Linked DNA regions of Homo sapiens: regions 2, 3, 4 and 5 are each linked to region 1. Evidence: promoter capture Hi-C in 16 types of primary human blood cells and fetal thymus (Javierre and others, 2016). All regions are on one chromosome and are shown on one strand. The core of a region is centred on a gene start or on the middle of the fragment in contact, and the rest is flanking DNA. Distances in the headings are between cores, read along the strand shown.

What was found. The method cuts DNA at HindIII sites, captures the fragments that hold promoters and counts their contacts. A CHiCAGO score of 5 or more calls a contact.
Region 2: a contact is called between a fragment that was not itself captured here and the fragment with the promoter of HAL in region 1, in 1 of 17 cell types (fetal thymus). The highest score is 5.3, in fetal thymus.
Region 3: a contact is called between a fragment that was not itself captured here and the fragment with the promoter of HAL in region 1, in 2 of 17 cell types (non-activated CD4 T cells and naive CD8 T cells). The highest score is 6.5, in non-activated CD4 T cells.
Region 4: a contact is called between a fragment that was not itself captured here and the fragment with the promoter of HAL in region 1, in 3 of 17 cell types (naive B cells, total B cells and naive CD4 T cells). The highest score is 7.4, in naive B cells.
Region 5: a fragment that was not itself captured here is called in contact with the fragment with the promoter of HAL in region 1 in 6 of 17 cell types (activated CD4 T cells, non-activated CD4 T cells, total CD4 T cells and 3 more); the score reaches 9.1 in activated CD4 T cells.

The regions. Positions count from the first base shown.
Region 1 is chr12:95,993,659-95,998,932 of GRCh38, reverse strand. HAL (histidine ammonia-lyase) reads left to right here and starts at 2,589. Exons shown (of 21, transcript NM_002108.4): 1 at 2,589-2,855; 2 at 2,942-3,269; 3 at 3,940-4,000; 4 at 4,108-4,135; 5 at 4,769-4,843; 6 at 4,935-5,007; 7 at 5,095-5,161. The coding sequence starts at 3,023. LOC102723340 (a long non-coding RNA gene) reads right to left here and starts at 2,451. Exons shown (of 4, transcript XR_945237.4): 1 at 2,303-2,451; 2 at 506-602. RefSeq lists enhancers at 182-241, 688-982, 2,207-2,376. The HindIII fragment of the contact is 1,685 bases long and covers 2,458-4,142 here.
Region 2 is chr12:96,509,702-96,514,877 of GRCh38, reverse strand. It overlaps CFAP54 (cilia and flagella associated protein 54), which reads right to left. Exons shown (of 68, transcript NM_001306084.2): 5 at 1,834-1,892. Among named protein-coding and RNA genes, the nearest start is that of CFAP54, 23 kb to the right of the region's middle. The HindIII fragment of the contact is 6,696 bases long and covers 264-5,176 here.
Region 3 is chr12:96,555,123-96,560,075 of GRCh38, reverse strand. The region is part of intron 17 of CFAP54 (cilia and flagella associated protein 54); the gene reads right to left. Among named protein-coding and RNA genes, the nearest start is that of CFAP54, 68 kb to the right of the region's middle. The HindIII fragment of the contact is 1,582 bases long and covers 2,312-3,893 here.
Region 4 is chr12:95,113,168-95,118,200 of GRCh38, reverse strand. FGD6 (FYVE, RhoGEF and PH domain containing 6) reads left to right here. Exons shown (of 21, transcript NM_018351.4): 9 at 4,500-4,550. Among named protein-coding and RNA genes, the nearest start is that of NR2C1, 42 kb to the right of the region's middle. RefSeq lists an enhancer at 2,728-3,461. The HindIII fragment of the contact is 1,134 bases long and covers 1,123-2,256 here.
Region 5 is chr12:96,527,456-96,533,185 of GRCh38, reverse strand. The region is part of intron 9 of CFAP54 (cilia and flagella associated protein 54); the gene reads right to left. Among named protein-coding and RNA genes, the nearest start is that of CFAP54, 41 kb to the right of the region's middle. The HindIII fragment of the contact is 2,750 bases long and covers 1,577-4,326 here.

The sequences.
Region 1 (5,274 bases), core at 1,340-3,839:
TAAGTTAATGTCGTTTTTAGTTATCACTTAGTGATACTGAAAGTGAATTGTGACAAGGGATGCTTGAAGGGTGGCATGGAAGGGTGCTGTGAAGAAGGTAGAGGGCGCTAAAGACAAACTTAATCCTGCTTGCTGGTTTACCTAGGGGCCAGCTCGGTGCAGTTCACATTTCTTCAGTTCAGCTAGTAAGCATATGCTAAATGTCTTTGTGCCAGATCGGATATATACATAATTATGGATGAACACAGACAAGTAATTTCCTAGATAATACTAAAGAAGAGCTATGCTAAGGCATCCCAGAGAAGGGCCACTTAACCCAACTGAAGAATTTAGGGAATGCTTCCTGGAGAAGAAAAGGCCTAAACAGGCTTAAGGAGTAAGAAAGATCTAGACAGGCAAAGGAAGTTGGAAAGTGCGTTTCTGGAGAAAGAATAACAAGGAAGACTCTGCTCCACAATGCGTAGGGCCTGAGTTTAGAATCCTCAAACTGCTGGGGGTGACTTACATGGCTGGGAGGTGGTATCACCTGGAAGCTCCTTCCCTCACTAGTCTGATGCCTGGGCTGAAATTACTCAGAAGCTGGTCTCGGCAGTGACAGTCAACTGGAGCATGCAGTAGTTTGGGTTGTTTTGCAGCATGAAGATAGTTAGACCTCTTATTAGTCATCTTTATACAGCTTTATCCATCACCAGACAGTAAGCCTCATGAATGTAGAGCGTGTTTGTTATTTATTTCATCCCCAGCACCTCGCATAGAGCTTGTTACATAACAGGTGTTGAAAAAATATTTGTTAAATGAGTCAAGGAATGAATGGGGGGGGGTGGGGCAGAAGGTTAAGGTGGTTCACATGTGCAGTCCTCAGTTTTCTCACAGATGTAGGAAGTAAGGTCTCCTTCTGAGAATTAGAGGTGGATGTCGAGAAGGTCCTGGCAGAGGGGTCAAAGTTTTGGAAAGTCACTGTGGGCTGGATGGAATAAAAGGGCAATACCATCAAACTATGTGATCACAGGACTTTCTCTATCAGTGTCTTCTGCCTGGGTGAACAGATATGACAGTTTCTTTTAATTTTAAACAGGGTCTTGCTCTCACCCAGGCTGGAGTACAGTGGTATAATCATAACTCATTGCAGCATTGACTGCCTAGGCTTAAGCAATCCTTCCAAGAGATGGCTGTTTTTTGTGATGACTAAGGGGATGGGTGTTATTCCAAGTGTAGACATAAGTTTAGGGATGCAAAGGAATCTCAGAGTGCTTAAGAAAGAGTGGTCCAGTGAGCGACTAGGGACCAGCTTCCTAGGATAGTAAGTGAGGATGCTGGTGGGAAGTGGAGGGATGAAGAGACTGACTGGAGGTCAGGTCCAAGGCTGGCAGTGACTAGAGTAAAAGGGCAGCTGGAAGGTTGTGGTCAGAAGGTGGAATATTGGAATTTCAGATTTCTTAAGTGTGTCAAATTCAGGTCGTGACAGATTCCAGGGTGATTTCTTAAGTGTGTCAAATTCAGGTCATGACAAATTCCAGGGTGCAGTCATGGTGTGGGTATCTGAAGAGCAAGTTTCAATAAGGCTCAAGGAAGGGTAGCTATTTGTACGCTTCCTGGGAAGCTGTCAGCAGATGAGAGGGACTCTGGGTATGAGTATAGGTGTTTTTCTTGAGCAACCATGTCTCTCTTCCCAACAGAAGTCTGATTTAGTGGAAACAGACTTTTCAGGATTTTTCTAGTGCAATAATCAAATCTCTAAAAATTGGCTTACGATGAAAGTGCTGCTTAGTCAAAATAGCATCTGCATATCTTTGATGCCGTAATCATGCTATCCAGAGTTCCTTAATACCAATGGTAATAAGGCGGGTGCAGGGAGCAGTTATCTGTGGTGAAGAAGCTTAATTGGGTGAGGGATATCCATGTGCCAAGATGAAAGAGCATTTATGGAACTTTATAGCTTTATGATTCATACAGAACATTTATAAAGCATTATAGTTACATGGAGTATTGGTGTCCAGATACTAGTAATCACAGACACTTCTATAATATTTCCACTATGCCAGGTGTTGTGTTGAGGGCTTTACATATATGAACTGACTTCATCCTCCCAATAGCCCTTTGACATATATACTATCATCATTACCATTATCTTCATTTTACAGATGAGGCAACTGAGGCCCAGAGAAGTCAAATCACTTGCCCACAAGTCATACACTTAGCAAATGGCAGAGCCAGGATTTGATCACAGGTAAATCCTGCACATACTGGAAGGAGGCAGTTAGCCCCTAGGCCTTCTGATAAGGAAATACAGGGTAATACTCACCTAATCAAGGCTAATAAGTAGTAGAGCTGGACTCTCATCCACGGCTGTCTGAGCCCCTAATCTCCAAGTCAGAGTGGTTCATTTGCCCAGATGACGACCTTTAGTTGTGAAAATGATCTCTGGCCTTTGCAGTCTTCCCTGGTGGAAAGAAAGCTTCAGAAAACCTTACTGGTGACAGGAAGTAGTTGCTCAATACATGTTTGTGGAATAAACAAATGAGTGACGATTGCCACACTCCCAGTGTCACAGTTGGCCCACAGAACACGTTTTACAGTTGAGTAATCTCAGATAAAGACAGGAACATGGTGTTTATAAGCTGCCCTTAATGGCAGAGAACACAGACAGAAACGAGGGAAGAGAGAGAAATTGGGGACCCTGAAGAAAGGGGGCCAGCAGCAGGTAGGTGCCATCAGGGACAAGAACAGCACCTCCCAGGGTGGGAGACCCCAGGCCTTTCTGGCAGCAGGTCTGGATGGAAAGTGGACAGGAGGCTCACCCGTCTGCATCCCCTGCTCCTGCCCCTGCTCGGCTACAAAAACCAAAGGGACAGCAGGTACCTCAATAAATATTTGTCCAATGCATGAATGAGTAAAGGTGAAGGAGGGGGAGTGGTTTGAAAGTCTATTCTCATCCTTCCAGCTGACCACACCCCGGTAGCCACTCCTGCATAAAGCTCTCCCCTCCTGTGACCAGCTGAGGACCTCAGGCTGCAGCGGAGCCATGCCCAGATACACGGTGCACGTACGTGGGGAATGGCTGGCAGTGCCCTGCCAGGACGCGCAGCTCACTGTGGGCTGGCTGGGCCGGGAGGCCGTGAGGCGCTATATCAAGAATAAGCCCGACAATGGTGGCTTCACCTCCGTGGATGACGCGCACTTCCTTGTGCGCCGGTGCAAGGGCCTGGGCCTGCTGGACAACGAGGACCGGCTCGAGGTGGCCCTAGAGAACAACGAGTTCGTGGAAGTGGGTGAGTGGCTGCAGGAGAGGGCCGCGAACGGGTGCGGTTTGGCCTGGCTTAGTCTTTGCAGCATTGAACCCCCACCTCAGGGAAAATGATGAGCAGAGGTCAGGCTTGCCGAGGCTGGCCCTGTGCAGGCACATGCCACGCCTCTGGGGATCTTAAGTCCTCACACAACCCTGTGAGATGGGTAGGATTCTCCTCCACCTCTGATGGAGGAGAAATCAGAGAGGAGGTAACTTACCCAGACTCCAGCAGCTAGTAAGTAACAAAGACTAGACTGGTACTCAAGGCTGCAGGTCTGAATCCCTTTGCAGTGACTGAATCATTTTGAGGTTATTTTGCCTTTCGAAAGAATCCACCCCCACCCCCAGACTGGAGGCCGGCAGCATAGCATCAGTTCAGATTTTGAAGAAAATAAAGCTGGGAATGGGGATGGAAGTGGAATTCTGTCTTGAACTTTCATCTAAACCCCTGGTCTCTGCCCTGACACCTACCTTTCTGCTTTTTGCTCTCCTCCTACATAAAGATGCTAAGACCACATGAAACCATCTGAAGCAGTTTTAAAGCAGCCATTTCTATAGAATTCATGGGCCAATGATGGGCCGTTCCTTGGTTTAACAGGGGGAACATGGCTGTACAATGTGATCTGTAACGAGTCTCCCGTGCATTGTTTTAGTTATAGAGGGTGATGCCATGTCTCCTGACTTCATTCCATCTCAACCAGAAGGAGTTTATCTGTATCCTTTCCCACAGGCTCTTTGGTCTGCTCTGGGGGTGGCTCCTGCAGATGGTGGGGCTGGGGGTTTTTCCACACCACCCTATATGTTCCTTTACCTGGATACAGATACAGCAAGTACCGGGAGCCTGAAAAGGTAAGCTTCAAACCACTTTCTTTTTCTTCAGAAAATTAAGGCCCCTTATTTAAGAGGGAGGAAAGCCAGGAAAACTTCTGAGAAAACACTGTCAATTAGAACAGGGCTGGCCGGGAGCAGTGACTCATGTCTGTAGTCCCAGCACTTTGGGTGGCCGAGGTGGGCAGTTCACTTGAGGTCATCAGTTTGAAACCAGCCTGGCCAACATGGTGAAACCCCATCTCTACTAAAAGTACAAAAATTAGCCAGGTATGGTGGCGTGCACCTGTAATACCAGCTACTCAGGAGCCTGAGGCACGAGAATTGCTTGAACCCAGGAGGCAGAGGTTGCAGTGAGCCATGTTTGTACCACTGCACTCCAGCCTGGGCTGGAGACTCTGCCTCAAAACAAACAAACCAACCAACCACAGGGCTTTATCCAGCTCTGTAGTGGGGAAAGGGGGCTTGGAAAGGCATTATGCTTTTGCACCAATAAGCCTCCTCTTATGCAAGATGCATTTTTATTTAGCATATTCATGTTTCACGCAATGATCAGATCTCTGAAATGTCAGTTTGGTTCTGTTGGAGGTGTCCCTACTCTGGTTAGAATAATCAAGCTGTTCAGACTCACTGAGATCCCCTTCTTTTGTGTAGTACATCGAGTTAGATGGAGACCGTCTGACCACGGAGGATCTGGTCAACTTGGGAAAGGGACGCTACAAAATAAAGGTATGGGGAGGGAGGGGAAAGATGTCCTCTGGCCATTTTTGTTGCCCGTGGAAGTCTTTAACGTGCTCAGTTCTGATCAACATTTTCCTAGCTCACCCCAACAGCTGAGAAGAGGGTGCAGAAATCCAGGGAGGTCATAGATAGCATCATAAAAGAGAAAACAGGTATCTTTTTATCTTTATGTTATAAATATTTTTATAAACAAACAAAAATCCCTGCATTTAATTGCATAATGTCTCTTTTTATTCTAGTTGTTTACGGTATTACTACAGGTTTTGGGAAATTTGCCAGAACTGTAATTCCTATCAATAAGCTACAGTAAGTTTAAAACACACATATGTTCACGTTCCACCTACCCTCATCTTTTAAATATTTTTCAACAAGGGAAATAATTCACATTTGCCCCAATTTACAGATCAGAGGATGAGGCT
Region 2 (5,176 bases), core at 2,362-4,861, 510 kb before region 1:
ATGGTTTCCTTATGGTTGAAAAACTGAAGATTTATCTCCTAATAAGATTAGAATACCTATTTAATCAGCATGGCAAAATACTCAACTATCCTTATTTTATCAGAGACAAACTCAAGGTATATGAGGCAGAGAAGAAATGTCTTACAAAGGTTATGAATAAGAAATTATTTTAAGATGACTGTCACTTTAAAATTCTCTCAGTGTTAACAAGCACAAACACTAACAGTCAAATGTCGGCACAGACATTTCTGCCCTTCAAAGCTTTGGCAGCAAGCACTGCAGCAGACCAAACTATGATGGTCCTGTGAAGCCATGTTTGTTGTTGTTACACCAAGCGCAACCAGAGTATGCAAATTCTCTTTAGGAAATCATCTGGAACTGAATGTAGCATCATTGCAGTAGTCTGCGGGCCAAGTTTACATTAGGCCTGGGAGAGTCCCCCCTCAATTTAATTCACACTCAGAAAGCTGGCACAGAGCTTCTTCAAGTCACTGTCTGTCATAGAGTTTTTTAATTTGAGAAGCAAAACAGAGAGAGAACACATAATTAATGTTATCCATTGAGCATGCAAATTTCTTTACTTCCATTTTTATTTTTCAGATGTTGTCAACTTTTAAGATACTTGGCTATGCTTTGAGGAAATAAGAAAAAACATATCTCTCCTGAGTGTTAGAATATTCAGGGTAAGGTTCTGTATGGAATAAAGAATAAAGTAGTCATGTTTCAGATGCCAGCAACAACTCAAGCAGGGTCTCAACGGGAGTATATTCGCCCTTCTTGGCCTACATTCCAATAACTGGAAAACTAATACAGGGAATAAATATGTCTCCCGTGGACAAAAATGCTACCAACATTGTAGGGAAGTCAATAGAAGTGTCAGCAACTTCCTCAAGCTAACACTGAGCAGTGACTACTGGTAAGTAAGAATCTTATTATAAAATAAAGTCTCCTTGCCTTTGTCATGCAACTGGGTTAGAGTTTAAGTGTGCATTCACCCGATTAGCATGCAGGCCAGAAGTGGAAGCACTTCAAGCAGAATGAAATCCAAGCTCCGTATCATGACATAAAGGGGGTAACCATAGTTTATCATCCAAACCAGGACACCTTTTTTTAATTTTCTATTTTTTTTTCATTTGAGACACAGTCTTGCTCTGTCACCCAGGCTAGAGTGCAAAGTGGCACGATCTTGGCTCTCTGCAACCTCCGCCTCCCAGGCTCAAGCAATCTTCCCACCTCAGCCTCCCAAGTAGCTGGGACTACAGGCATGTGCCACCAGGTCCGGCTAATTTTTGTATTTTTTGTAAAGACGGGGTTTTGCCATGTTGGCCAGGCTGGTCTCAAACTCCTGGCCTCAAGTGATCTGCCAGTCTAGGTCTCCCGAAGTGCTGGGATTACAGGTGTAAGCTACTGCACCCGGCCCAGGCCACTTTTACTAGTAAAAGTGGGCACTACTGATAATTACTAACAGGACAACAGGCATAAACCGGGACTTTCCTGGGCAAGCCAGGACGGATGGTCACCCTACCTAAAGCTATAGCAACCAGATGGATGTTTACTATCAAGCGTGACAAGCATGACTATCTGAGAGACAGAGAATACTAACATTTTCAGGAATTTCCTTTCTTTTCATTAAATCATCTATATTTTTACATATGATCCCTATTAAAGCAAAACTAAGAATAATAAAGCTATATAATATATATTTACTAAATTTTATATTATATAATTCTCCAAATATTCCTTGTTTAACATTCAATATACTGTGTAATGAAAGCCTTAAGAAAAATAAAACAGGAAATAGAGGGGAAAATATTTTGTCAGTACATTTCATACCTTGGAAGACTGACCTATGACCATCAGTTTTCTGCAAATGGTGTAAATATAAATGGTACCTGGATGGAGAAAACGATTGTTAACATGTTTTACAGTCAAATGATAGAAATTTTATATTCCAATTTCTGTGGTTCAAGTCTGTAGTTCCCAAAACAAGTGATCTTATGAGGAAGTCTGATAATGGTATATAGAGTTATACTCATCATAATTTTTCTTGTAACTTGTAAACAAAATCATTAAAATAATTAACATGGCCGTATTTTAAATATGTTGACACAGGAATCTTCTAGTCTCATTTTACAGGCCATTTAACTTTTGAAGTATAATGAACAAAAGAATAATTCTAGTGGCATAATTTATGTACCCTGTGCTTTCATTAATTCATATAAAATATTACTGGTTCCCAGCTGTGTACAGTGGCTACGCCTGTAATCCCAGCACTTTGGGAGCCTGAGGCGGGAGGATCACGAGGTCAGGAGCTCAAGACCAGCCTGTCCAATATGGTAAAACCCCGTTTCTACTAATAATACAAAAATTAGCCGGGCGTGGTGGCATGCACCTGTAGTCCCAGCTACTTGGGAGACTGAGGGAGAAAAATCGCTTGAACCTGGGAGGCGGAGGTTGCAGTGAGCCGAGATCATGCCACTGCACTCTAGCCTGGGCGACAGAGCAAGACTCCATCTCAAATATATACATATATATATATATATATATATATATATATATATATATATATATATATAAAATTGGTTCCCATGGTTTCCTTATCATTTAAAAACTAAAGATTTATCTCCAAATAAGATCAGAATACATATTTAATCAGCATGGCAAAATACTCAACAAGGAAACTCATAATAATTTAAAAATCATAATGCATAACAGGGCACGTTATATTCACTCTCAGACTCATATAACATTTTTCCTATTATCAAGGTGTGTCCTACTAGCATTCTAGTGAAAAAATAGCATTTCCAACACCTAAGTAAGGACACATGCTTTTGTGTCAGACCATTAATTAAAAGAGGATAGAAGGCTGGAGGGAGGGTTGAAGAGAGGAGTGGGGAACATCACCATACTTCTCTCTGTATACAAGCAGTTTATCTATCTATAAACATACCCAAAAGATGGTAGCATGCTTTAAAAAGGCATGTAATTGTAACAGATAGTCTAAATATTTTCTATAAAGTATCTAATATTCGTAACCATAAAAACTCAACAATTATGAATTCTATGTTCAGGTTTAAACTTTTAAGTTTCTGATGGCCAGGCGCCGTGGCTCACGCCTATAATCCCAGCACTTTGGGAGGCTGAGGCAGGCAAAACACCTGAGGTCAGGAATTCGAGACCAGCCTGGCCAACATGGAGAAACCCCATCTCTACTAAAAATACAAAATTAGTTGGGCATGATGGTGTGCACCTGTAATCCCAGCCGGGCGTGGTGTCTCACACCTGTAATCCCAGCACTTTGGGAGGCTGAAGGGGGCAAAACACCTGAGGTCAGGAATTCGAGATCAGCCTGGCCAACGTGGAGAAACCCCATCTCTACTAAAAACACAAAAGTAGCTGGGCGTGATGGTATGCACCTGTAATCCCAGCTACTCAGGAGGCTGAGGCAGGAGAATTGCCTAAGCCCAGGTGACAGAGATTGCAGTGAGCCAAGATTGCGCCATTGCACTGCAGCCTGGGTGACAGAGCGAGTCTCCATCTCAAAAAAATAAATAAATAAAAAGTTTGTGAGAAAATGGCAACTGCACCAAAACATCTATTACTTGATTAGAACACAACTATAAGCATAATAAACATCAATTACACAAATCAGTGACCCCCAAAATTGAATAAAATTTAAATTTAAATGTATAGTACCCTAAATTTCATAGAGAATGCAATTGGTCCTTAACATTCAGGGACTTGGCATTATTCATGTGACTACCCCCAGCACCTGCAGTTATTCATTCCACTGAAGATCCACTGGGGAAGAAACCACTCGACTAATAACAGCTCAAGCTCAGCAGACTTATCTCAACGAGGCTTTGTTGACCTCTACTCTTCATCTTTTTCATTTCTTTTTTTTTTTTTTTTTTGAGATAAGAGTCTCGCTCTGTCACCCAGGCTGGAGTACAGTGGTGCAATCTCAGCTCACGGTGACCTCCACCTCCCGGGTTCAAGTGATTCCCGTGCCTCAGGCTCTCAAGTAGCTGGGATTACAGGCGCTCGCCACCACGCTCAGCTAATTTTTGTATTTTTAGTAGAGACAGGGGTCTTGCCATGTTGGCCAGGCTGGTCTCGAACTCCTGACCTCAAGTAATCTGGCTTCCCAAAGTGCTGTGATGAGAAGCGTGAGCCACCATTCCTGGCCTCTACTCTTCATCTTTAAAAATAAAACTGTCTAAGTGTTTCTTTGCAGGAAAAAAAAATAGTCACCAAGTAAAAATATGCACAGGAAACACATGCCTGTCCAAAAAACATGTGATGAGGATGTAAGCCAGGAGCCTGTATAAACATGCCAGTAACGGGGAACTGGGGAACTGAGGAAGGCCTCAGGAGACTGCCCTCAAGAATGACAAGGGCCCTCTGTATTTCAAAAAGGTGCCTTTCACCTTTCCAGCACTAAAATGTTCTGACTGTAACTAAGTCCTTTGACAGTTCAAGATCTTGGCATGGCTCACAAATTCCTGCTGCAAAAGCCAGACTCAGAGAGTAAATGGTATCAGATGGAACACAGACTGAATCTTTATGATCTCAGGGTATTTCTGGAAGTTTATTTCCTTTGTTCTTTTTTTTTTTTTTTTTTTGAGATGGAGTCTTGCTCTGTTGCCCAGGCTGGAGGGAAGTGGCATGATCTCGGCTCACTATAACCTCTGCTCCCCGGGTTCAAGCAATTCTCCTGCCTCAGCCTCCCAAGTAGCTGTGATTATAGGCACACGCCACCACACCCGGCCAATTTTTGTATTCTTAGTAGAGATGGGGTTTCACTACGTTGGCCAGGCTGGTCTTTCACCTGGGCCTCCCAAAGTGCTAGGATTACAGGCGTGAGCCACCATGCCGGGCCTGTTTCATTTTTAACCAAGTCCCTAATAGGAGTTTATTGCCTGGTCTTGTGAGTCCTTTTCATTAAAAATGGCCACCATCAAAATAATCTAGTTGAGGGTCTAAATTAGTTGGGTTCACTTTAGTTGAAAAGTAAGGTATTACTTAATATCCATATACCCAATTAGATTTTTTTTTTTTTGAGATGGAGACTTGCTCTGTCACCCAAGCTGGAGTGCAGTGGCATGATCTTGGCTCACTGCAACCTCCGCCTCCCAGATTCAAGCAATTCTCCTGCCTCAGCCTCCTGAGTAAC
Region 3 (4,953 bases), core at 1,853-4,352, 560 kb before region 1:
GGGTTGAGTTTTGTACATTGTATGCACGTGTTAAAATATTGCATGTACCCCATAAATATGTACAATTATTATATACCAATTAAAAATGTAAAACTATAAAACATTTAGAAGAAAACATAAGAAAATCTTCATGATCTGGGGTTAGGTAAGGAGTTCTTAGACGGGACACCAAAATCACATTACATAAAAGTAAATAAATGATCAATTGGATGCTAAAAAATAATTGACTATATAATCAATAATATTATTATATCAGTGTTACCTTTCTTCAGAGTGATAATGGTATTATGGTTATTTGAGAGAATGTCCTCATTATTAGCTGACAAATGCTACAGTTTTCAGGGGTAAAATATATCATAATGTCTGCAACTTCTCAGCCTATGGATATGTCCATGTATATGTATATATCTCTACACATACATAATATGATATTGATATAATAGGTATATACATCTACAGATGTTTATACATAGATGTATAAATATACATATTTATATGTGCATGTAAAGAGAAAGACAGTAAACGTGGCAAAATGGTCATGATTGGTGGATTTAGGTGAAGGTTATGTGGATAGTCACTACACTATTCTTTCAACTTTCTGAAGGCTCAAAAATTGTTAAATAAAAAGTTGGAGGGAACAGTTTACCACAGTTAACTTTTTAATTTTTAACTTTTATGGGTACATAGTAGGTGTATATATTTATGGGGTACATGAGATGTTTTAATACAGATATGCAATGCATAATAATCACATCATGGAAAATGGGGTATCCATCCCCTCAAGCATTTATCCTTTGTATTACAAACAATTCAAGTATACTCTTCTAGTTATTTTTAAATGTATAATTAAATTTTTTTTTGAGATGGAGCCTCGCCCTGTCACCCAGGCTGGAGTGCAGTGGAGTGATCCTGGCTCACTGCAATCTCCGCCTCCCAGGTTCAAGCTATTCTCCTGCCTCAGCCTCCCAAGTAGCTGGGATTACAGGCATGCACCACCACGCTCAGCTGATTTTTGTATTTTTAGTAGAGACTGGGTTTCACCATGTTGGCCAGGCTGATCTCAAACTCCTGACCTCAAGTGATCCACCCACCTCTGACTCCCAGAGTGCTGGGATTACCAGCATGAGCCACAGTGCCCAGCCTTACTTCGCTGATTGTATCCTTTGCTGGGCAGAAGCTTTTTAACTTGATATGATCCTATTTGTCCATTTTGCTCTGGTTGCCTGTTCTTAAGGGGTATTGCTCAAGAAATTTTTGCCCAGACCAATGTCCTGGAGATTTTCCCCAATGGTATCTTGGAGTAGTTTTATAGTTTGAGGTCTTAGATTTAAGTCTTTAATCTATTTTGATTTGATTTTTATATATGGTGAGAGAGAGAGGGGTCTAGTTTCATTCTTTTGCATATGAATATCCAGTTTTCCCATCATTTATTGAAAAGACTGTCTTTTCTCCAGTGTATGTTTGTCAAAATGAGTTCACTGTAGGTGTGTGAATTTGTTTCTGGGTTCTCTATTTTGTTCTATTGGTCTATGTGACTGTTTTTATGCCAGTACCATGCTGCTTTGGTTACTATAGCTCTGTAGTATAATTTGAAGTCAGGTAATGTGATTCCTCCAGTAAAGTTGTATCCTGCAACTTTACTTAATTTGTTTATCAGTTCTAATAGTTTTTTGTGGAGTCTTTGGGGTTTTCCAAATATAAGATGGTTATCATCTGCAAACAAGGATAATCTGACTTTCCAATGTGGATGCCCTTTCTTTCTTTCTCTTGTCTGATTGCTCTAGCTAGGACTTCCAGTACTATGTTGAATGTTAATTCTTTTGTCAACCTAGGAAAACTTTCAATTTTTAAATTACCTTTGAATATTTTATTTTATAAATACAAAAATATATTTATCATGTATGTATGTTTTAAATCACATTAATATCATGAACACATGTAAACCACCACCCAGCACCAGAACTGGAACATTAGCAGTAACTTACATCTACCTATATGCTTTTCCTTCCTACGCCATCTCCCTGCCACCTCCACAAAGGAACCACTGTCCTAAACTCAAGGTCATTCTTTTTAATTTTATAGATAGAGAGTGTCAATAAAATCTGGAAATGCAGATGAGTTATACATAATGTCTTCAAAGGACATATGTCTATGTTTCCAGACTTTATGGACTACCTGCATACCTGATAACTATAGTTTTCCTTATATGATAAATTTATGTATATGCAGGTCACTTTTTAATATACAGTTTTATCAATTATTACGTTACTTATTATATATAATATATAATAAGCCTTAAGAATCCCAAGCTTTCATTTTTGAGCTTGATTTAAAACATCCTACTGAATGTAGTCTTTCATTTTATTTTTTTCTGACCCCATCCTCCCATCACACTGAATGTAGTCTTTTAAAACTTACTGTTTTAAAACAAAAATTATGTTTCTAGAATTCATCCACGTTGGTCATTTTCATTGCCATGTGATATTCCCTTACATGAATATATCACAGTTTCTTTATCAATTCTCTATTAATGGACACTTGGGTTGTTTCCAGTTTTTTGCTATTATGAACACTGCTTCTACAAGCATCCTTCTATCTGTAGTTGGTGTACACGTTCAAGAAATTTTACAGGGTATGTACCTATGAGTGACATTGCTGGGTCATAATTTAGATTAATGTTTAGCTTTACAAAATAATTATATTGGCCATAACTTCTTCCTTTTCTATGAAGTTCTCCTTCTTTCTTTTGCTTATTGTCTTGTTATTTGTCTTATTATTGATGTTTTGGAATTTTTGTACATTGTTCATGCTAATCGTTAGTAAATTGCCACTAGACAAAGAGATGGCATGAGAAGGAAGATTCAATTGGTCATCGTTGCCTTTGAAGATAGAAAGTGGTCATGAGCCAAAGAATGCAGGTAGCCTCTAGAAGCTGGAAAAGACAAGGAAACAAGTTCTCCCCCAGAGCCTCCAGAAAGGAATACAGCTCGGTTGACACCTTGATTTTATTATTTAACTTTCGCTTTAAGTTCGGGGGTACATGTGCAGGTTTGTTGCATAGATAAACTCATGTCATGGGAGTTTGTTATACAGATTATTTTGTTACCCAGGTATGAAGCCTAGTACCATTAGTTATTTTTCCAGACCTTCTCCCTCATCCCACCCTTCACCCTCAGAAAGGCCCCAGTGTCTATTGTTCCCCTCTATGTGTCCATGTGTTCTTATCATTTAGCTCTCGCTTATAAGTGACAACATGCAGTATTTGGTTTTCTATCCCTGAATTAGTTTGCTAAGGATAATAGCCTCCAGCTCCATCCATGTTCCTGCAAAGGATATGATCTTGTTCCTTTTTATGGCTGCATAGTATTCTATAGTGTGTATTTACCATGTTTTCTTTATCCAGTCTACCATTGATGGGCATTTAGGTTAATTCCATGTCTTTGCTATTGTGAATAGTGCTGCAATGAACATACATGTGCATGTGACACCTTGATTTTGGCTCAGTGAGCTGCAGTTCAGGTTTCTGACTCCAGAACTGTAAGATAACATATTTGTGTTGTTTCAATGCACTCAAGTTTGTAGTAATTTGTTACAGCAATAATGGCAAACTAATACAATTGTGAAAAATGTATGGGGGACTTGGAAGGGAAAAGCAAAAGCATTTAATTTGAAAAAAAAAGAAAAGAAATATAAATTGCAAATATTTCTCCTAGGTGTGGTGTGGTTTTGGGGTTTTATTTTTATTTTTTTTTTGCTTTCCTTATCTTTAAAATTTTTTGATGATGAGAATTTATTTATATTAATGCAGCCAAATGTATTAATGTATTCATTTTTTTCTTTTAGGATCAGCACTTTTTGAATCTTGTTTAAGAAGATCTTCCCTACTCCAAGCTTAGAAATATATTCTACCATATCTTCTTCTAAAAGTTTTTAAGATTTTTTTTTTACATTTAACTCTTTGGTGCATCTGGAAGATATTTTTGTGTATGGGAAGGTAAGAAATGTAATTTGGTTTTATCCATATGGATATCCAATTATCCAATGAATATGAGGTATTCTAGCACTTTGAAATAAATCTTGACTTATGTTAGAGCGAGATCCCCTACACTCACCTGATTTTTTTTTCCTTCAGGAATGTCTTAGCTATTTATGTCTTCTACCTACATTTTGTAAAAAGATTGTAAAGGTCTACCCAAAAAAATCCTACTGGAATTTTTATTGAAATTGCATTGAGTCTATAGATCTATTTGAATAAAACTGAAATCAGAATAATCTTTCTGATTATTTGGTCTTCTTATCAATAAACACAATCTACCTTCATTTATATAGTTCTTTAACATTTTTCAGTAAAGTCTTATAATTTTTTGCATACTTGTAGCTCTTTGGTTAGATTGAAACCCTTGGTACCTTACAGATTTTTTTGATATAAAAATGATGTCTTTTTATTATATTTGCTAACTGCTGTTGTATAGAAATATAATTACATATTATATATTACATATTATATATTATGTATTATATATTATTATTTTTGTATATGCTGATAGATTCTTTTGCATTTTCTAGGTAGACAATCATATAATCTGGAAAGAACAGTTTTGTTTCTTCTTTTCCAATCCTTATATCTTTATTTTTCTTATCTTCTTGCATTGGCTAGAATTCTCAGTATAAATATTTTTTTCATCTTCCTGCACCAATCAGCAGTGTGTCTACACTGCTCACTCTTAAATTAACCAGCATTTGAATAAATCTATTTAGCTCTATATACAATATTATTTGAATGCTTTACACGCCCCTGCCAGGAACTCATCTCTGACTTTCTTATTTGATATAGATATTTCTGTGTGCCCATAATACTCTGAGCCCACCCCTATTACAAAATGTATCAACCTCAACTGATATGGTTGGCTTACTCATCTAGAAGCTCAAAAGTAGACTGTCTTATTGGCACCT
Region 4 (5,033 bases), core at 440-2,939, 880 kb after region 1:
TTTTATATTTTTAGTAGAGATGGGGTTTCACTATATTGGCCAGGCTAGTCTCAAACTCCTGACCTCAAGTGATCTGCACACCTCAGCCTCCCAAAGTACTGGGATTACAGGCATGAGCCATTATGCCTGGCCGTGGGAATTTGTTATTGTTGTTGTTCTTGAGACAGAGTCTTGCTCTGTCACCCAGGCTGTAGTGCAGTGGCACGATCTCAGCTCACTGCAACCTCTGCCTCCCAGGTTCAAGCGAGTCTCCTGCCTCAGCCTCCTGAGTAGCTGGGATTACAGGCATGCGCCCCCATGCCCAGCTAGTTTTGTATTCTTAGTAGAGACAGGGTTTCACCATGTTGGCCAGGCTGGTCTCGAACTCTTGACCTCATGATCCGCCCACCTCGGCCTCCCAAAGTGCTGGAATTACAGGCATGAGCCACTGCGCCCGGTGGCCTTGGGCATTTTATATGAGAACAAAATTAACTTGTACTGGCACCGTGGCTCACACCTATAATCCCAGCACTTTGGGAGGCCAGGGTGAGAGAATCACTTGAGTTCAGGAGTTCAAGACCAGCCTGGGCAACATAGTGAGACATCGTCTCTACAAAAAATCAAAAACTTAGCCCAACGTGGTAGTACAGGTCTGTTGTCCTAGCTACTTGGGAGGCTGAGGTGTGGGACAGCCACTTGAGCCTGGGAGATTGAAGCTACAATGAGCATTGGTCACACCACTGCACACTCCAGCCTAGGCAACAGAGCGAGACCCTCCAAAAAAAGAAAGAAAAAAAAAAGGCAGCTTGCATATCCCTAGAAGTTGCACATAGTATGTTGTGTTCCAGTTAATTTTTTGCTACTCATGTTGGGTGATGGTGATGGAGTTAATTAACTTTTATTAATCAGTGATGCCACCTGGTGGCCAGAGAGTACATTTTGTAGTGTACCTACATGCTGAACCAACATCTGCTTTTTTTTTCCTTTGATAAAAATAACCTCAGTGGCATTTGAGGCAGTTTTATTAGTGAAGTTTTGAATAATGCTCAATTTGTTTTGGCAGGAGCAGAAAGGTCATAGAATACTACCAGTCTAACATGGCAAACTGAAATGACTGCTCTCCTCGTTGTTATTAGGAAAGCTTCTGCCGAATACCAGGTCCTAAGTGATAGGTAATAGGTGGTTCACTATGACCAATATAGGCGTGTCTGTCTGGTCTCCTTTCCTGGGTTTCACCTGGGTTATAACAGTTACTGGGGCAGCTACTGGTTTCCTGTTCCTCCCATCTGACTCAGGGTGATCAGTCACATTCTTATGCTGCAGTTAAGGCCCCAGGTGATTCTTAACTGTTTAAGGAGATCCAGGCCCTGCTCTCTTTGCCAAGGTAAAAGTTCTCAAAAAGATATACTGCAAGAAGATGCCCTAAAAACATGAATGGATGGATGGATGGGTTGATGGATGGATGGATGGATGGATAAGTTGGAGAGTTGGATTTTGTAGACCATAAAGATATTTTTAAAAATTGGCAAGGAGGGTAAACCTAACTCCGTTACTTCCTTGATTAATAGCATGATGTTGCAACGTGTTAACGGTGGGTTTTCTGCTCAGTGTATTTCAACTGTGTTCATAAAAGTTCATGTTTGAGTACAAGCAAAGAAAATGCAACTTAGAAGTTTATGAGGCTCAGCACAGTGATTCTGAGGTCAGGATTTCCTAATATGGACATCTTCTGGGGAGCCCTTTTGGTTTAGAGAAATGTCTCTGTTTTCATGGATATACTTCTGTATTAAAAAACAGAAATTTAAGACAAACTAGGAAGTCGCCATGAGTCCAATATTTAGGTAAATCTGCATTCCTTCCCACAACAAGATATAGTAACTATCTAACAGCTTAAGGAAAATCACTTGATTAATGAGGTAGCTTAGGGTTTGAGAACATCTAATAGGGAGGGTAGGGTAAGTTTGTCTCCCCAACCCTGTCAACTGTCAGCCATAGAAATGTTAAATGTTTGCACTCACCAGACACGGATTATGTAATATATTGAATGCATTCTGAGTGGGGTCAGAGTGAGAATATTTATTTTCATCTCCAGATGGGGCTAAGTGTAACATATAACTTATGTATTTTGTTAATTTGGGAATTTTTTATTTTTTGTGTGTGCCCACTTCATTTTTCCTTTATATTTTGCGGGGGATGCTCTCTTCATTCAGATTAAGATCTAAATTGCTAGCGATGGTCTCTGGCAAGATAGAACCTATGCCATGGCGCAGGGAAGCTTAATATGTTTATACATAACATCTCACCATGGCTTATTGCCAGTGCTGGATATTTATAAGGTGCACGTCTAGACTCACACAGGCTCTTAGATCACTGTCTCAAAGACTTACGAAGTTTCAGCAATTGGGCGCGTGTTTGTGTCATCTGTTATGTTTGAAGATCTGGCACCAATACCCCTGTTTTCCTTTGTTCCTCTGAGCATGATGTCATAAATCCATGAGATGAAGTTGTATCTATTCCATAATAGTACTAACTAGCAGTTGGGTCTGATAAAGATATATTCAGTCACTGAACACACCTTTCCTCCTTTCATTTCCTCAGTTCCCACTGGCATTAGAATTGGTTTCAGCATTTATTGCCTTTTACCTCAACTAAAATACAATCCTATCTAAAAAATAATATATTCTTGGCCAGGTGCAGTGGCTCACTGCCTGTAATTCCAGCACTTTGGTAGGCTAAGGCAGGAGGATTGCTTGAGGCCAGGAGTTAAAGACCAGCCTGGGCAATAAAGCGAGACCCTGCCTCTGCAAAAAAAAAAAAAAAAGCAGACATGGAGGCACACACCAGTAGTCATAGCTATTTGGGAGGCAGAGGCAGGATGATTGGTTGAGTCCAGGAATTTGAGGCTGTAGTGAGCAATGATTGCAGCACTGTGCTCCAGCCTGGACGACAGGGTGAGACTCTGTCTTGAATGAGTAAGTGAACTGTTTTTATTCAGTAAGCATTTATTGTCCCCTTTGTGCAAAGCCCCTGACTAAGTGCTATGTGAGAGAAAGATGTGTCAGATGACTTGCTCACAAGGAGCTTTGAGTCTAATGAAAAAGAAAATGATAGAAGCATAAAGTGAGACTGCTGTGTCATGTGTTATTCAAAGGCAGAAAACGTTTCTTTCAAATGGAAATTTTGTAAGAGAAGGGGCATTTAAGAAGAGCCTTGAAGAGTGTGAGTAGAATTTGTATAAGCGAGACAGAGGAAGGGATGGAGAAAAAGGGACTATTAGAGACAAAAGGTGTGAAGCCAGGGGGACACATGGGGAGTGTTTAAGGGGTTGCACAGATCAAATTTAGTCAGAACAAAGGGCCCATTTTAGGCAGTAGCAAGAGAGAGAGAAAAATTGATAGGGACCATGTAGCAGGGGGCTTTAAATTCCAGAAAGGAATTTGTATTAATTTAACAGGTAATGGGAGGCCATCCAGCATTTCTCAACAGAGAAGGAAGTATTGCCTTGAAATTCCATGACTTACCTTGGTGTTAAAGATTTATTAAATATAGGTTCTTCTATTACCTCTTTTTCTGTATTACAAGAACTACTATATACCATATTACTTATTTACAGACTATCTTTATCCAAACCAAGGTTTCTCAACTTCAGACCTATTGATATTTGGGGTCAGATAATTTTTTTTTTTGTTGCAGGGCTGCATTATAAGATATTTAGCAGCACGTCTGACGTGTGTGTGTGTGTGTGTGTGTGTGTGTGTGTGTGTGTGTGTGTGTGTGTAGTAGAGATGGGGTTTCCCCATGTTGGCCATGCTGGTCTTGAACTCCTGACTTCAAGTGATCCACCCCCTTTGGCCTCCCAAAGTGCTAGGATTACAGGCATCAGCCACCGAGTCCAGTCTGCATCTCTGACTTCTAACCACTAGCCACCAGTAGCCCCCGCTTTTCCCCAGTTATGACAACCACAACTGTCTCCAGACATTGCCAGATGTACCCTAGGGGGCAAATTTGTCCCCATTTGAAAACCACCTGTTTAAATACATATATTGAGTTCCCTTGGTGTCCTGAGCATTGTTAGACTCTTAGATTAACAAATCCAGGAGACTTTTAGGGATTGGATTAATGCCTTAGAATTTTATACTAGACGTGTGTCTGATCTCAAGATTAAAGTACTTCCTATGTGTTGGGATAAAAGCTGAATTGGGCATTAGGAGACCTGAATTCTCATGCTGGCTCTGCCAACTAGAGGTTGTGTGAGTTGGGTGAGATCCTTTGCTCAGTAATCTGATTCCTCATCTCTAAAATAACCAATGTTTCCTCCAAGGCTTTTTCTAGCTCTGACTCTATGTCTTGATTTCAAATTGATCTCAGGGCTTTATTTTTTCACATTTTTAGAAAGTTAGCACAAGTTGGACTAGCATGTATATTAACCAGCAAGACTAATGAAGTATTGAAAAAGAAAGATATGTGTTTGGGGCTCACTGGTTTATTGTACTTAAATACTTTTTTTTCTTCTTTTCTAGATTATTTGAAGAATCTCATAGAAGATGCTGGAGATTACAGAGACACTCAAGGTAAATAACTTCTGTGGTTGCAGAAGTTTTTATATTATGTTTATTTAGGTAGGGCTAGAAAGTAAAAATATATTGATAACAAAATCCATTACAAACTCTCTTCATACGACTTGAAGGGCAGGTGCGGTGGCTCACACCTGTAATCCCAGCAGTTTGGGAGGCCGAGGCGGGTAGATCACCTGAGGTCAAGAGTTTGAGACCAGCCTGGCCTACATGGTGAAACCCCTTCTCTACTAAAAAAAATACAAAAACTAGCCAGGTGTGATGGTGCACGTCTGTAATCCCAGCTTCTTGGGAGGCTGAGGCAGGAGAATTGCTTGAACCCGGAAGGCGGAGGTTGCAGTGAGCCGAGATAGCGCCACTGCACTCCAGCCTGGGCGACAGAGCGAGACTCCTTCTCAAAAAAAAAAAAAAAAAAAGACTTGAGGCCTTCCTGGAAACTCCATTTTGAGCAGATTAACATAGAACCAGTTAAGTAGTAAA
Region 5 (5,730 bases), core at 1,702-4,201, 530 kb before region 1:
GAGTCCAGCCTGAGAAATATAGCAAGAACCTGACTCTCAAAAAAAAAAGAAAGAAAGAAAAGAAAAGTAACTGAAAGTAACTGAAAGTGACCCCTGGATTGAGCAATAAGGTTGTCCATGACATTCTTAGTAGAGTGCTAGAGTCTGCCCACTGTATAAGTAGAAAGAAAATACTTAGGAACAATGAAAACAGACAATACCGTCAATAAATCTGGCTGTACCAAGAAGAAGACCTATAGGGAGGAAGCTGAAAGAAAACACGGAGGCCCAGTCACAGTGGCTTATGTTTGTAATCCCAGCACTTTGGGAGGCCAAGGCAGGTGGATCCCTTGAGCCCAGGAGTTCGAGACCAGCCTGGGCAACATGGAGTAACCCCACCTCTACAAAAAATACAAAAATTAGCCAGGTATGGTGGCACATGCCTGTATTCACAGCTACTCAGGAGGCTGAGGTAGGAGGATCACTAGAGCCCAGGAGGTCCAGGTTACAGTGAAGAATGATCGCACCATTGCACTCCAGCCTGGGTGACAGAGTGAGATCCTGTCTCAAAAAAAAAGGGCACGGTATAATGGGACCACTTGGACACTTGGAGGGATTAGGCTTAAAGACACAAAGAGAAACATCCCCTCTCCTCCATTTAAATGAGAGATAGTGGGAAAGGATCAATATGCATGAGGGTAAATTTGGGGGTTTGGGTGAAGAAAGTCAAGGAAATTCTTATCTAAAACTTGTATTTTTCTTAGGAAGAGAAGAGCCCAAACTATGGCACCAGAAGTTCCCTGCATTCAGATGGGCATTCGCATACACATGTGCACCCACATGTGCCCACACCCACACACTAAACTCACCTAAAGGCATAGGAGCTAACCCTAGGCTTTTCTCCCTCCTCTCAGGTGGACACTAAGGCCAAGTCAGCTAATTGTTCCAAGAAGGAAAGCTCATGGGAAAAGAAAATTAAAAGCAAAAACATCTTGAAAGAAAAACCACAAATGAAGCATCCTTTACCACAAGAAGCAAGAAAATGGAAAAGCACAAACAAGAATTTAAGTGAAAGTGTTCTCTCAGAAAAATAAAAGAGGATATTAGAAACATAAGGCAAGAACAACTGCTGTGAAAAAAGAACCAAGTGGATTCAATGTATAAAGTACATCATCATTGATGGCCGGGTGCGATGGCTTATGCCTGTAATCCCAGCACCTTGGGAGGCCAAGGCAGGCAGATCACCTGGGGTCAGGAGTTTGAGACCAGCCTGGCCAACATGGTGGAACCCCATCTCTACTAAAAATACAAAAAATTGGCCCGGCGTGGTGGTGCACACCTGTAGTCCCAACTACTCGGGAGGCTGAGGCAGGAGAATCGTTTGAACCCAGGAGGCAGAGGCTGCAGTGAGCTGAGATCGTGCCACTGCACTCCAGCCCAGGCAACAGAGCAAGACTCTGTCTCAAACAAACAAACAACAAAAATAACAAAAAAGTATATCATTGTTGAAACAAATAATTAAATAGGTAAACAGAAGAGTAGAACAGAGAGAATCAAAGATGAAATTCGTGACCTGAAAAATCAGATAGAGGAAGCTTCCCAGAATGCAACAGAATAAAGACATGAAAAGAATAAAATAAATAAGACATGGAGGATGAACATCTATCCTGTTAACATCTGTCTAATGGCATCTTCAATGCCTTGAAGGATTTTTTTTTTAAATAATGAATATAAGGAAAGAAATTTAAAAGTAACATGAAAAAATGAAAGAAAGATATGACCTCAAAGTATCTGCTGCATTACTAAACCCACCCCTAGATCCAGTAGAATAAAATGTAAGAATGTCATAAGAAAGAGAAAATTGTAAAAGATACATCTATAAAACAACAAGATTTAAACTGACATTACACTTCTCAACAGAAACACTATATATACAAGATTATAAAAAAGAGCATCAAAATCTTAAAGAAACTTGTAAGTAAACTATTATATCCAGCCAAACTACTTCAAAATTCTTAGAGTTTGTATTTCAGCAAAAAGAAATGAATTTAGAAAGAAGCAATGAAAAATGGGAAGTAATGATGAGGAGAAAAAAATCTTAATAAAGGTATTTTCTGTCTTAAAAAGCAATGACCAGGACTTGTATTCAGAACATAAAAAGAGCTCTCAAAACTCAAGAGAAATAATTAACAATCCAATTAGAAAGTGAACAAAAGACACTAGAGAAAAAGAGAGTATACAGATGGGAAATAAACACATGAAAAACTGTTTAACATCTTTAGCCATTAGGGAAATGCAAATTAAAGTCACAGTGGGATATTACTACACACCTATCAGAATGGCTAAAATAAAAAAGTAATGATACACCAAATTCTGTCAAGGATGTCCAGAAACTGGATCATTTACACATTGCTGGTGGAAATATAGTAGAGTCACCCTGGAGAATAGTATGACAGGTTCTCACAAAACTAAATATGAACTTATCATATATCCAATCCAGCAATTGCACTGTTGAGCATTTTATTCCAGAGAAATGAAAACTTACCTTCACACAAAAACTTGTACTCAACTGTTCATAGCAGCTTTATTTCTAGTAGCCAAAAACTGGAAATAATTCAAATGTCCTTCAAAGGGTAAGTGGTTAAACAAACTGTGGTGTATCCATACCATAAAATAATACTCAGCAGTAACAAGTGAAAAAAAATTTTTTTTGAGACAGAGTCTTGTTCTGTCCCCAGGCTGGAGTGCAGTGGTGGTGGTGTGATCTCCATTCACTGCAACCTCTGACTCCTGGATTCAAATGATTCTTTTGCCTCAGCCTCCCAAGTAGCTGGGACTACAGGCACATGCCATGACGCCTGGCTAATTCTTGTATTTTTAGTAGAGACAGAGTTTCGCCATGTTAGCCAGGCTGGTCTTGAACTCCTGGGCTCAAGGGATCAGCTCGTCTTGGCCTCCCAAAGGGCTGGGGTTACAGGCATGAGCCATGGTACCCCGCCAAGTGAACTATTAATACACACAACCTGGATACATCTCAAGAGAATTATGCTGAGTGAAAAAACAGACAACACACATACGGCCACCTAATTTATGACTAAGGGATACTGCAGCCAACTAAAGGAAGTTATCTTCAATAAATGGTGCTGTGTCAACTGAATATACATATAGAAGTATATAAATCTTGATTTCTACTTCGTATAAACAAAAAAGATCTAATTTCTAATTATAGACCTCATAAACTTAAGGAAGAAACAATAAAACTTATGGAAGAAAACATACGAGAATATATTTACGACATTGGGGTAGCTGAAACTTCTTAACCACAACACACAAAGGATCAACTATATAGGATATATTGATAAATTGGACTATATTAAAATTAAGAATTTCTGTTCCCCAATGGATATCATTAAGAGAATGAAAAGGCAAGCCATCAAGTAAGAAATGATATTTGCAATACATGTATTCAATAAAGGAATTATATCCAGAATAGATAAAGAATTCCTATGAATCGACAGAAAAAAGGACAAAAGGTTAAAATAGGCACCTCACAAAATAGGATATCCAATAGTGAAAAAAGTATATGAAAAAGTGTTTAACTTTATTAGTCATCAGAGAAATTTAAGTTTATACTGCAACACCACTGAATTCACACCAAAATGGACAAAATGAGAAAGACAGATAATACTAAGTGTCAGAGAAAATTTGGAGTAATGGAACCCTGATAAAATGTTGATGGGTGTGCAAACTAAAAAAAACCACTTTGTAAAACAGTATCCAATGAAGCAACATGGGAATATCCCATGCTCTTGCAATTCCACACCAACAGAAATGCATAGCAGATGTTTAACATATTTCTCTGAGTAATTCATAAAATAAAAAGACAAAAACTATCAGTAGGGATAGAGAAGATCTAACCACATGATTTACTAGCTTAACTTAATCAACATATATATAAAGCAATGCATCCAACAACAACAAAAAATACATAGTCTTTCAAGTACACACAGACTATTTACCAAAGCTGGTCATGTGCTAGGCCATAAAGCCTATCTTAACAAATGTTCACAGTTCCAAATAATACATAATGTGCTCTCTGACCATAGTATAATTAACATAGAAATCAGTAACCAAAAGATAATTAGAAAATCTCCCATATTTTGGTTCAGAACCCATATATCAAAGAATAAATCACACTGCGTATTAGAAAATATTCTTACTCCAATAGTAATAAAGATATGATATATCAAAACTTCAGATACATAGCTAAAGCTGAATTTAGAACAAATGTCTTAATATGCATTTAATGTAAATAATAACAAATCCTAAAAATCAATGATCTAAGCTTCCAAGTCAATAAGTTTTTTAAATCAGTAAAGCAAACCCAAGAAAGTATAATAAAGGAAGTAATGAAGAGCAAAAATCAATAATATGGAAAATGGACATACAATAGGGAAGATCAACAAGGTCAAATATTGTTTCTTTGCAAAGACTAATGAAACTGGTGGACCCCTGGTGAAATTGATGAAATAAGAGAGAAAGCAAACTGACCAATACTGAAAAGAAAATCTGAAAAATTTTATATCTATGGAGGAAATTGAATTCATCATTTAAAATATTGCCATACAAAAAATTCCAGGTACAGATGGCTGCACCAGAAAATTCAACTAAACATGTAGGAAGAAATAACACCAATATGACACAAACATTTACAGATAATGGAGAAAGAGGGCATACTTCTCAACTCATTTTATGAGGCTAATATGACCTTGTGAGCGAAACCTAAAAATAACATTACAAGAAAGAAAAGTCTCTCCCTTCAACAGAGAAGCAGAAATAAGCAATCCATAAAATCAACCACATTAATAGAAATAAATGAGAAAGCCATTTGATCGACTCAGTAAATCTCAATAAATTCAGAGAAAGCTTTTGCTAAAATTAAACTATTCAAGATTAAAAACAACAACAAAAAAAAACACTTAGCAAACCAGGAATACAAGAAACATCTGTGATCTGCAAAAGGGTATCTATAAAAATTATTCTGTAGATATCTCAAATAATGGCAAAATGTTGAAAGCTTTCCAACTGAGGAAAAAAATGAGACAAAGGAGTCTGCTATCACCACTTCTTCCCATGTGTTATTGGAGATCCTAGCCAGTGCAACCATCAAGAAATGCAAGAAAAGAGAAATTAAAAGATTAAGGATTGGACAGAAATAAGTCATTCATAGATGACTGTATATACAAAACAAGTCCCCCCAAAAATCTACTAATACATTATTTGAAATATCAATTGACCTTAGCAAGGTTTCTGAATTCAAGATCAATATAAATTATATCAGCTTGGCACAGTGGCTCACACCTGTAATTCCAGCACTTTAGGAGGCTGAGATGGGTGGACTGCTTGTCCCAGGAGGTCGAGACCAGACTGGGAAACACGGTGAGACCCCGTCTCTACAAAAAATACAAAAATTAGCCAGGTGTGGTGGCATGCACCTGTAGTCCCAGCTACTTGGGAGGCTAAGAAGGGAGGATCACTTGAGCCCAGGAAGTTGATGCTGCAATGTGAGCCATGATCACGCCACTGCACTCCAGTCTGGGTGACAAAGAGAGACCTTATCTCAAAAACAAACAAACAACCAAACAAAAAAAAAAAAACAATATAAATGTTATCAGTTTCCTATGTATGGACTACCATGTTAAAATTTTTGTTACTCATGTGTATCATTCTATCATAAAACAATATCTTAAC